Regions from separate parts of the Homo sapiens genome. Here region 2 is linked to region 1. Evidence: promoter capture Hi-C in 16 types of primary human blood cells and fetal thymus (Javierre and others, 2016). All regions are on one chromosome and are shown on one strand. Each heading gives the region's core, a stretch centred on a gene start or on the middle of the fragment in contact. The rest is flanking DNA. Distances are from core to core; before and after follow the strand shown.

Region 1 (4,915 bases), core at 1,904-4,403:
TGTATTGATAAAGAGAAGCAGCCCTGGAAATCTGATATATTCTTTACCTGGAAACCCCTGCAAAATCCTCATTGTTCTCTGTTGCCATTGCTGATGCTTGGTAACAAAACCTTGCTTCATATCAAGTAGTTTTCATCCTCCCTCCACCAATTGCTTTGAGAGAGGCTAGGCTCAGCCCCAACTCCTACACTGAATTCTAGTTCACCTTAGACTCTCATGGTAGCCTCTTTCCTCTTGACTGTGATTAATTAGGCAAGAACATGTGACACAATTCTGGTCAAGGAGATGTGAGAGGAAGCCAGCTGAAGGCTTTTGAGAAGTGTTTCCTTGCTCTTGAGAAGGAATACACAGGAAAAGATGGCCTTTTCTTCTAGTTATTGTTGTCTAGACATGATGCCAGCAGCTGCTAGTAGCCATAGGAGAACTAGCCCAAAAATTAAGGACAAAGCTGATGTGCTGGGAATGGCATGGCAGAAAGAAGGAAGGAACAAAGGGCTTTGATGACACTGAGGAGCTGCTATATTAACCAACTCTGGAGCCACTCTGCCTTTGGACTTCTTGTGATGTGAGACAATAAATTATTCTTATTGATTAAACTATGTTATGTTGAGTTTTCTGGTTTAAAGGGAATTTGATCTTTTGCTGTTTCATCTCTTGGCCTACACTTCTTTTTTGGCCTGTACTCTTTGCATCTGTTGTTTTCTCTTTTACAGTGCATTCAGCTGAAAGCATCCTAAAAGATACTGTCTCATTGGCTCTAGCTGGGTCATGTGCCCATTCCTGACCATGCATGCACTGTGGGGATGTGATGTGTGATGGGACTTAGGCTAGATGATCCAGTACTCTTCTGCAGTGAGATGGGCTCATCCCATCTGACTTCACGGGCAGAGTGTGGAGGAAAAGGCATATCTACTGAGAAATGAGGGTATGATTTCTATAAAATAGTGAAATATATGTTGTGAAACAAACATATCAGATATCTAATACTTTGTCCTTTTGAATGTGCCCTTTATTACAGAATGGCCTCAAATCGTGAGTACAGTGGGTAAGAAGTAGGCTATCTGTTACTTCGTCTGGTAGCCCAGCAAACGTAACTACGGAGGTGTTTTAGACCAAAGGTAGATCTGCTATGCTATTGACTCATCTAAATAGACTATGAAAATTTTTCCTGAGTTAGGCTCTCATATCTCTAGCTTTGGAACACAAGCCATTTTGAGATCATAGCAAAACACAGTGCGACCCACAGCCAAAACAGACAAAACACTCAGTTGCCAGATGATCCAGGGCTTCCTAAGAATACTAGAAAAAGCAGGCAGCAATTTAAGCAGCATGTGCCATCCCTCAGGCCCCAAGGTTTTCTGGCACCCTTCTGTCATGCCCCCTGAGGTTCAGTTGGTCTCATGGCTCTGACTCAGTGTGGTATGTAGAAGAGTGGGGCCTCAGGTCAGCCTGTGTCTAGTGATTTCAATTCTGCTCTTGGCTGCAATTCCAACTGTCAAGAAAGTTTTGCAGTCAGCCATTTGATAGTGGAAGGGTTAGCCCATGAAACTGAATTTCCTGTGTATCTGGAAAGAGAGGCAGCCCTAGAGATCTGACATGCTCTGTGAAAATTAGGGGTTCATTTTTGCTATTGCTGGTTAGTCTCTGCTGAACCTAATATATTTCAACATTTGAAGACTTTTTTTAAAAAGAAAATTTTTTTCTTTCTATTTTTTATTATGAACTTAAGTAACTTCATGGCAAAAAAATCTAATCAACATTAAACTATTTACTTCCCTCCAAAGTAATTTCCTCTCTGTCAATGCACAGACGTGCATTTTTACTTAGTTATAATTAGTGTGAACATACTCGTTTTTGTTTAAGAAAGGTTTTCTTTACCTTGGCATTCAGATTCGTTTTCATAGGCGAAGAAAGCACTGGGAAGGAGAAGGAACCTTTGCTGGCAAGTTGGGAGGATTATATGGGGTCATACTATCCCAGGGTTAAGGAAACCTTAAAGGACCCAACATCCCTCTCCATATCTCTTCTGATGATCCTTTTGTGCTCACAGACTAACCAGTGTGGCCTTTTCACTCAAAAGCCTCTCCAGATCTGCACAGCACCAAGGGTGCAGTCTGGCTCCCAAAGGAGTAATGCAATTCCATCCTCAGGTCTGCCAGGGCCCACCTGTCTGTCGTGGGCATGCACCATTGCCCTGGCTTTACTGGGCTGTTGGGTTGTCTAGTGGTTTTCCTTGCAGAAAGCAAGCAGGAACAATGCTGCTCCGGACTGGTTTTCCATACCACTCCTCTCAAATATCTTCTATTTTCTTAAGTGTGATCACACACCCATGGTTTCCAATCTATCAAAGCATAACATTGCTAGTCGCTTTTTTCTAAGTTAAGGAAGTAGCCATGTTGGGTTTAATTAAAAACAGCAACTATTTGTACAGCTGTCCCTAAGTTCATGGCTCATAAAAGGATTAACTTCAACCTTGCTGCCTAAGTCTTTTGGGAGTGTCACAAAAAAACATTTAGGCTTTTCTGGGCAGTGCCAGGCCTGGGCCTTGAGGCTTGCTGATGCTAGTTCAGCCACCAGGCTCTCGGTGCTCAAGTGGCACCCAGCAAAGCAGAGAAGAGCAGAACTTCCAGATACACAACTCCTCCTTCTTTTGTTTGGGGGATGCAAGGCCTTGAAGGCTGCTTCAACAAGTTTCTGAAAATTCCCCTCGGGTTGGGAAAGGCACAGTCTTCCTTTTGCAAGTTTTTCTAGAGCCCTTCGTACTTTTGCCCTAGAGTGGGTCTTTTGCACCCCCACCTCCCAGACCTCAGTGGTCATTGGCAGGCATCCTTCGAAGGAGGTGGGGGCGGGGTATCCCCGCCGATGGATGCGCCCGCACAAAGCAGCACGTTTTCTCATCAAAGCCCTGGAGAGAGGGAAGAAGCAACGCTCAGCATTTCGCTGATTTTCAAGTGCACACCGAGCAGCGCTTCAGGCAGCTTTGGGTCAGAACACGCCTGATTCGGACTTCAGGCGAAGGCAGAGGCCAGCACGGGTCACCGATTCAGAGCCGGGGGCGGGGCCGACCACACACGCTGTGAGACCCAGAGGCCGAGGAGCCGCGGGTTAGAAAATGTGACCTTGGCGACCCCAACGCCCCCGCCTCCCTCGCTGCTGCTCCACCTGCACGCGGAGCGCGCCGGGCCGCCAGCGGAGGCGATGGCCAGCCCTGCGCCCTTAGTGGCCTCCATCAGCCACCAAATGGTGGCTCTGCAGACCTTGCAGCTGCTGCAGCAGGAGTGGGGCTGGGGGGACGGTCCAGTCGCCCCCGGGAACCCGCGGGACCCAGACCACGTGTCCACCGCTCCAGCCCGTCGCTCAGGCCCGCCGCGGGCCCGGCCGGGGCCCGGGCGCGAGGAGCGGGGCGGGGGCGTGGGGACCAGGAGTCGGCGGACCGCGGCGCGGGCGAACTCCCCAGAGGAGGAGGTAGTGCGAGGCGCTGAGGGGGGCGCCGAGTTGCTGCCCTTCCCCCGGGACCGCGGGCCCTGCACCCTGGCCCAGATGGCGATGCGCAGCGCGCTGGCCCGCGTGGTGGACTCGACTTCGGAGCTGGTCAGCGTGGAGCAGACGCTGCTGGGGCCCCTCCAGCAGGAGCGGTCCTTTCCCATTCACCTGAAGGTGAGTCTGGCCCCCGCCATCCCCTCTGGCGTGCAGGGTAACCTCCCATCCTCCAAGGGTGGGGCTGCTGGGATGGCGATGGGTGGATCGCAGGATCCCAAACACTGCTGCCCACTGTGATTCAGCCCCAGTGGGAGAAGGAAGGGGGCGGGGGACACTCTGGGGACTCAGCAGGAGGGGCAGGGAGCCCCAGACCCACCTGAGGCCCGCCTGGCTGGCACAACCGAGATGTGGGGACTGCCTTGCCAAAACCTCCCCCTGGAACTCCTTCCTCTCTCACATAAATCAGCTTCCTGCGCTAGAAAGGCCCTTTCCACACGTGCAGCTTGTAGGGATAGAGGACAGCTCCCCCCACCCACTTTCCAAATTAATAACGCTTCCTCCAGAGCCTTAAATACACTTACTAAGTCCCTTCTGCCTTTTGTATGATGAAATCATCTACATTTATTTAAAGTTCCTTCACATTCATGAATCACTATTATTTTTTGCATAAATCCAATTCCCCACAGAGCTAAGGGGTCTTACAGAGTCAACCTACATTCTCATAAAGTGGGGTGAGAGCTGGGTGGGTCCCGGGTGTTAAAGCGTGAATACTAAATGCTAAACTCTTGCTAAGTCACCCAGCTCATATAGGTAGGGCACATTTCCTCTTAAGGTACCAAACTGTGTTAGCCAATTTAGCCCGGGAAGGGAGCAGCTGTCTCCCAGGCTGAGTGAGATTGCGGAAATCTGGGGGTCTGGGTTTCAGTCCTGGACTTGCCATTAACTAACCTAATTGGTTTAAGGTCACGAATCTCTCTGAGACATTCTGGCTTTCAGATTTTGACCAGGAGCATTGCTGTATTTTATTTCCCTGGGGCATCTAGCAGAAGGAGTTGGGGAGGGGTGATGAGGAGAGCTTAGAATATGTCTCAAGAGTTGCTATTCTGTACAAGCCAAGGTTTGGAAAAAGTTGCTATACATTAAGTTGCACTATACACTGTAAAAGATTTATTTAAAATCAAACATAATAAAGCCTATTATATACCCAAATAGGTATTGTTTCTCTACGTAGGGGTTTCTCAATCTCTGTACTATTCACATTTTGACCTGGCTAATTCTTTGTTGTCGGGGGTTGTCCTGTGTATTAGAGGATGTTTAGCAGCATCTCTCGCCTCTACCTGTTAGATGCCAGCAGCATATTCCTCGCCGCAAGTTGATACAGCCAAAAATGTCTCCAGACACTGCCAAAGGTGGCGGGGGCGGTGGGGTGGGAGGC
Region 2 (4,571 bases), core at 138-2,637, 500 kb after region 1:
GTATTTCTCCTAATGCTATCCTTCCCCCTGTCCCCCACCCCATGACAGGCCCCCATGTGTGATGTTTCCCACCCTGTGTCCAAGTGTTCTCATTGTTCAATTCTCACCTATGAATGAGAACACATCATTTGACCCAGCGATCCCATTACTGGGCATATACCCAAAGGATTACAAATCATGCTACTATAAAGACACATGCACACGTATGTTTACTGCAGCACTATTCACAATAGCAAAGACTTGGAACCAACCCAAATGTCCACCAATGATACACTGGATTAAGAAAATGTGGCACATATACACCATGGAATACTGTTATATGCACATTCCATATGGAATATGCAGCCATAAAAAAAGACTTTTAAAACTAAGAAGGAAGAATGTGACTTCTTTTGTCCCTGGCTTAATTCTCTCTGATTCCCTCTAATCTAGCTATCTAAATAAAAGAATGTCACAAGCTGAAAGGAAATGTGAAGAAAAAAACATATGAATTAATAGCTCATGATATCCTGACAAATTTTATACCCATAATTTCTTATAATTCCATCAATTGGTATTTCTATTCCCATCTTGTAGGTGAGACTGTCCAGTTTTAGAAGGATTCCCTGTGATCTTAGGCAACTTCTTTTTCTTTATACCTCTGTGTCCTCACCCATAAGTTAGGATATATCTACCCCATAGGGCTGTACTCATGACCAAAGCTCATAGCTCCAAGCAACAACAAGCAGAGCTCCAGGGATGACAGTGTAGTGTGGAATGGACACCACTAAACAGAGAGGGCCTCAGGCACACTGGCTTCCACACTGGCTGCCACAAATCCTCCATGAACCATAAACACACCTCTTTACCTCTCTGAGCTTCCATGTCACCATCTGTAAAATAATAGTGTTAGACTAGACTATTGCCAAACTCCCTTCTATCTCTAAAATTCACTGTCCACAGGTTCACCCTGCAAGTTAGCTCCTAAACCCTGACAGAGTCCATGGGATGGGGCTGTGACCAGATGCTTGTTTCTCCTCACTGTCCCAGTTCCCAGAGGAGGCCTGGTCTCTCCCCTCAGCTCTGGAATAACAGTTTGATCTGACCTGTCAAACTGTGAGCATCAGGTACTGGTGTATCCTACACTCACAGCAACCCTAGGATCATTTTCATTTCATCATCATGCTATCTTTCTATTTAAATGAAAGATAGCATGATCAGAACAGCATGTGGTAAACAACAAAGCCCACAGGAAAGAAATGCAAGGACCCCAGGGCAGAGGGACAATCTCTGATCAGAAGGTCTGTAAAGGGTGCAGAACCCAGAAGTTCATTATGAGTGGGTGCCACTTAAGATTGTTTTTATTTTTCAGGCATAGTTTTTGCTAACATCATAATGTCATGTTGAAGGAGTTAAGGATATTATAGCCATGAGTTCATGCTGAGATCTCAAAAGAGGAAAAAGGAGAAATGATACTGTCTTTGCTCTGTGGCACCTCACGATGGAAATAATAGATGATAGATGTGTTTGGAAGTAAGGGAGGATTGGTGGCTAGGTGAGGTAAACAAAAAGAAAGCCTTGCCAGGTGCAGATCTGCATTTGAAACACGGCTGCTTGGAGTGGACCATAGATGTCACCTAGGGACACATGCTGCTCCCATCTCTCTGATTTAATTTTCCCCTACATGGGGATTTCTAAAATGGAGCATTAGTGACTCCCTCCTTTGTATTCCCACAGCTCTTAGGCCATATCTTTATTGTACTGCTTCAAATGCTAACTAACCACGGTCCATCCCCCACACCAGACTCTGAGGGTCCCTAGTGCCTTGGCATCCGGCAGGTTCTAGGTCATGCTTATTTTACCAACAAAAGCAGCAATTAATTCCAGCATGGGAAGCAGGGGTTGGGTGAAGTTCCACAAAGGTTTTAGCCTATGAGCAGGACTGTTTTTAAGCAAGGATTTTTCCAGATGAAAAGGCAGAAAAGTTTTGCAAACAGTGAAAAACCAAGGAGAGAGGAGAAAAGGCTAGAACAAAGAAAGACCCATAATCCCAGGAGGAGACTGGGGCATGAGGTCAACTTTTGGGAGACATGGAAATTAGTAACTGAGGCAGAAAACAGAGGACAACAGAAGTTTGAGATGGCTGTAGGAGACCCAGGAGATGTCCCAAAGGGAGGCAGTAGCATGGGTATGGAAGTCAGGAATCTGGATGACCCCAGAAAAGTGCTGAGGGGGAAAGGGTGAGGGCCAAGGACGTGGCTCTGAAGACAGGAACATTTCAGGGCCCAGAAAAGAACGCATGAAGGAGACTGTGTAGGAACAGAGGTAAGGCTGTGCTGGGAAAGCCATGAGGGAAAAGAGTTTCCCAGAGTCAAAAAACACAGGCAGCTGAGCTACCCTTTTAGATTTAGCCCAAAGAGCACAAGGAGTGGACGTCATTTCAAATCCCAGAGCCAGCTCTGGTTCAGTGGCCTGGCCTGGGTCACCAGGGCCCCACCTAGCCCCTGGCAGTTTTCGTGGAGACTGTGCAAATCCACTTTGGAACCAATGAATGGGTTTGTGTTCCAGGCTTATTGCAAAAGACTTGAAGTTCTGGTGTCTTACGGGGGAAAAAAAGAAAAACTGGTAACTTTTTTAATGCATGATAAAGAAAATGTGTGAGAATGTTCCCTGAGGTGATGGGTGGTTATTTTCCCATCAGTAAATCTCTGTGAAACAATCCGGGACTGTCCTTCCTCAAGGAGCTGAGGCCGCTCACAGAGGCCACCATCTGGGCAAGCAGGTGTGGCTGAAAAGCACACTGACAGGCCCGCCACGAACGCACGTGCAGAAGCTGATGTTTCTTTAAACGCTGCAGCTGCTACTCGTAGATCCTGACGCTGCTTGTGCCTGGCTATTAGAATCGTTGCGGAGTCGGGGAGGGAAGGGGGATGTTTAATGCCTTAGCTCTGCGTAACCTATCCCAATTCTGTTTGCTACATAATGTGCATTTGTGTTTCACTAGAGTGCTTGAATCTAGCAAATGTGTTACAAGGCTGCAGAGACTGAGTTGGTCGGCTGCCGGGATCATTTCTCAGAAACTCACCTAGTGGTCTCACCTAAGGCTGGATTCTAAAATGTCTTAGGTCCATCCTGAATTCGGGCAGGAGAGCTCACAGATTCCCCTGTTTGCCAACTGGTGCCTGAAATTCCTAAATGCAAATCCTTTGGATTGGAGCATTGTCCTTGGGGACAAAGAAATGCCCTTGGGCTTCTAGCTAACAAACAAGAGAACATTCTAAAAACCACCCCACCAAAATCACCTACATGAACAAAGGAAATATCATAAAATGAGAAAAACTGTCCATGCAATAACATAAAGTCTTAGAAATTACAGCACTCTCGATTCCAATACAACATTAAATAATCCCCCCGGATCTACGGCAGGCAGCCAGCCCCTATGCTTGTTCCGCTTTGGTGCCTCAGGCTCTGGAGTGTGTCTTTCCATCCTGCACTGCCCTAAGACTGTTCTGTTTCTGCAGGAAACTACAGGTATATTGACTTCCCTCTACCCATACATCTGTCTCTACCTGCTCCCAGCTGGTCCAGTTTGCTCGTGGTCCAGGAAACTGTTGTTTGTTGATCGAAGGCATAAGAGTAAGCCTTTTCTCCCAGGACCCTGTTTCTCCCAGGTATCTGGGCCGCAGGGGCTCAAGAGCAGCTTCCATGAAATGAGGTCCCACAGCTGCAGCCACTTCTTCCAGCACCACCCCCTCTTCCAGGTTGCCAACTCAGCACCCTCCATGCGTCCTTTTCAGTCCTTTTTTGAGCCCCAGACAGCACCCTTTGTACCTTACCAAAGTCAGACTGTGCCCCACTGAGCAATTCCTGTGTCTTATCTGTTCTTAAAAATTGGGACTTCACAGACCTCTCTTCACATGGATAAGTAAAGGAGAATAAACCTGGGCATGTGGAAACATTCCCAAGCACAGAGATGAGAAGAAAGGCCAGAGGACTCTGAGGGACTCATTGCCTTCTAAAGCACACACATTGCAAGCACAAAGAAGAAAACAATTGTAACACATTCTTCATGTTGCTAATAAAATACAAAAGCACATAATCTGTGAACAAAAGGAGAAGCCATGGTAAAAGCAGAACTATTCAAATGTCTATATATATTTGAGTAAGGATTTAACCAAAATAAGCATTTCTAAAAATAAACAATAAAACAGTACGAATAGATAAAATACTAGAAAAAACTATCCTGATTTTTTTTTTTTAATCCAAGTCTGGATGTAGAGAGTTCTCACAATGATCCAGGCAGCAGTTTTGAAGTTTATATCTAGTTTGTTTTAGTAAATTTTCTAAATTCCAAAAACAAAGAAAAAATTCTAGAAGTATTCAAGCAAAAACCACCTGTTTTTGTTACCTGTTGTTTTAGCCTGGGTTTCTGTAAAGACAAAGCCTGAGGCAAAGGTTTAGGTGCTATTGTTTTGGTGGGTGTAAAACAACCCCAGGGAAACAGAAGTTGGGAGAAAGGAAGAGAGCAAGGAAGAGCAAATATCCAAGGTATCCTTAGTATCAAGCATAACAGATTTCTCAAAATTTCACGG

What was found. Contacts are between HindIII fragments. The CHiCAGO score rates a contact against its expected background, and 5 or more counts as called.
Region 2: a fragment that was not itself captured here is called in contact with the fragment with the promoter of DLEU7 in region 1 in 1 of 17 cell types (neutrophils); the score reaches 5.9 in neutrophils.

The regions. Positions count from the first base shown.
Region 1 is chr13:50,841,930-50,846,844 of GRCh38, reverse strand. DLEU7 (deleted in lymphocytic leukemia 7) reads left to right here and starts at 3,153. Exons shown (of 2, transcript NM_001306135.2): 1 at 3,153-3,657. The coding sequence starts at 3,199. The region is part of intron 4 of DLEU7-AS1 (DLEU7 antisense RNA 1); the gene reads right to left. RefSeq lists an enhancer at 3,297-4,223. The HindIII fragment of the contact is 9,888 bases long and covers 1-4,915 here.
Region 2 is chr13:50,338,967-50,343,537 of GRCh38, reverse strand. All of the region lies in intron 2 of DLEU1 (deleted in lymphocytic leukemia 1), which reads right to left. Among named protein-coding and RNA genes, the nearest start is that of DLEU1-AS1, 190 kb to the left of the region's middle. The HindIII fragment of the contact is 7,213 bases long and covers 1-4,571 here.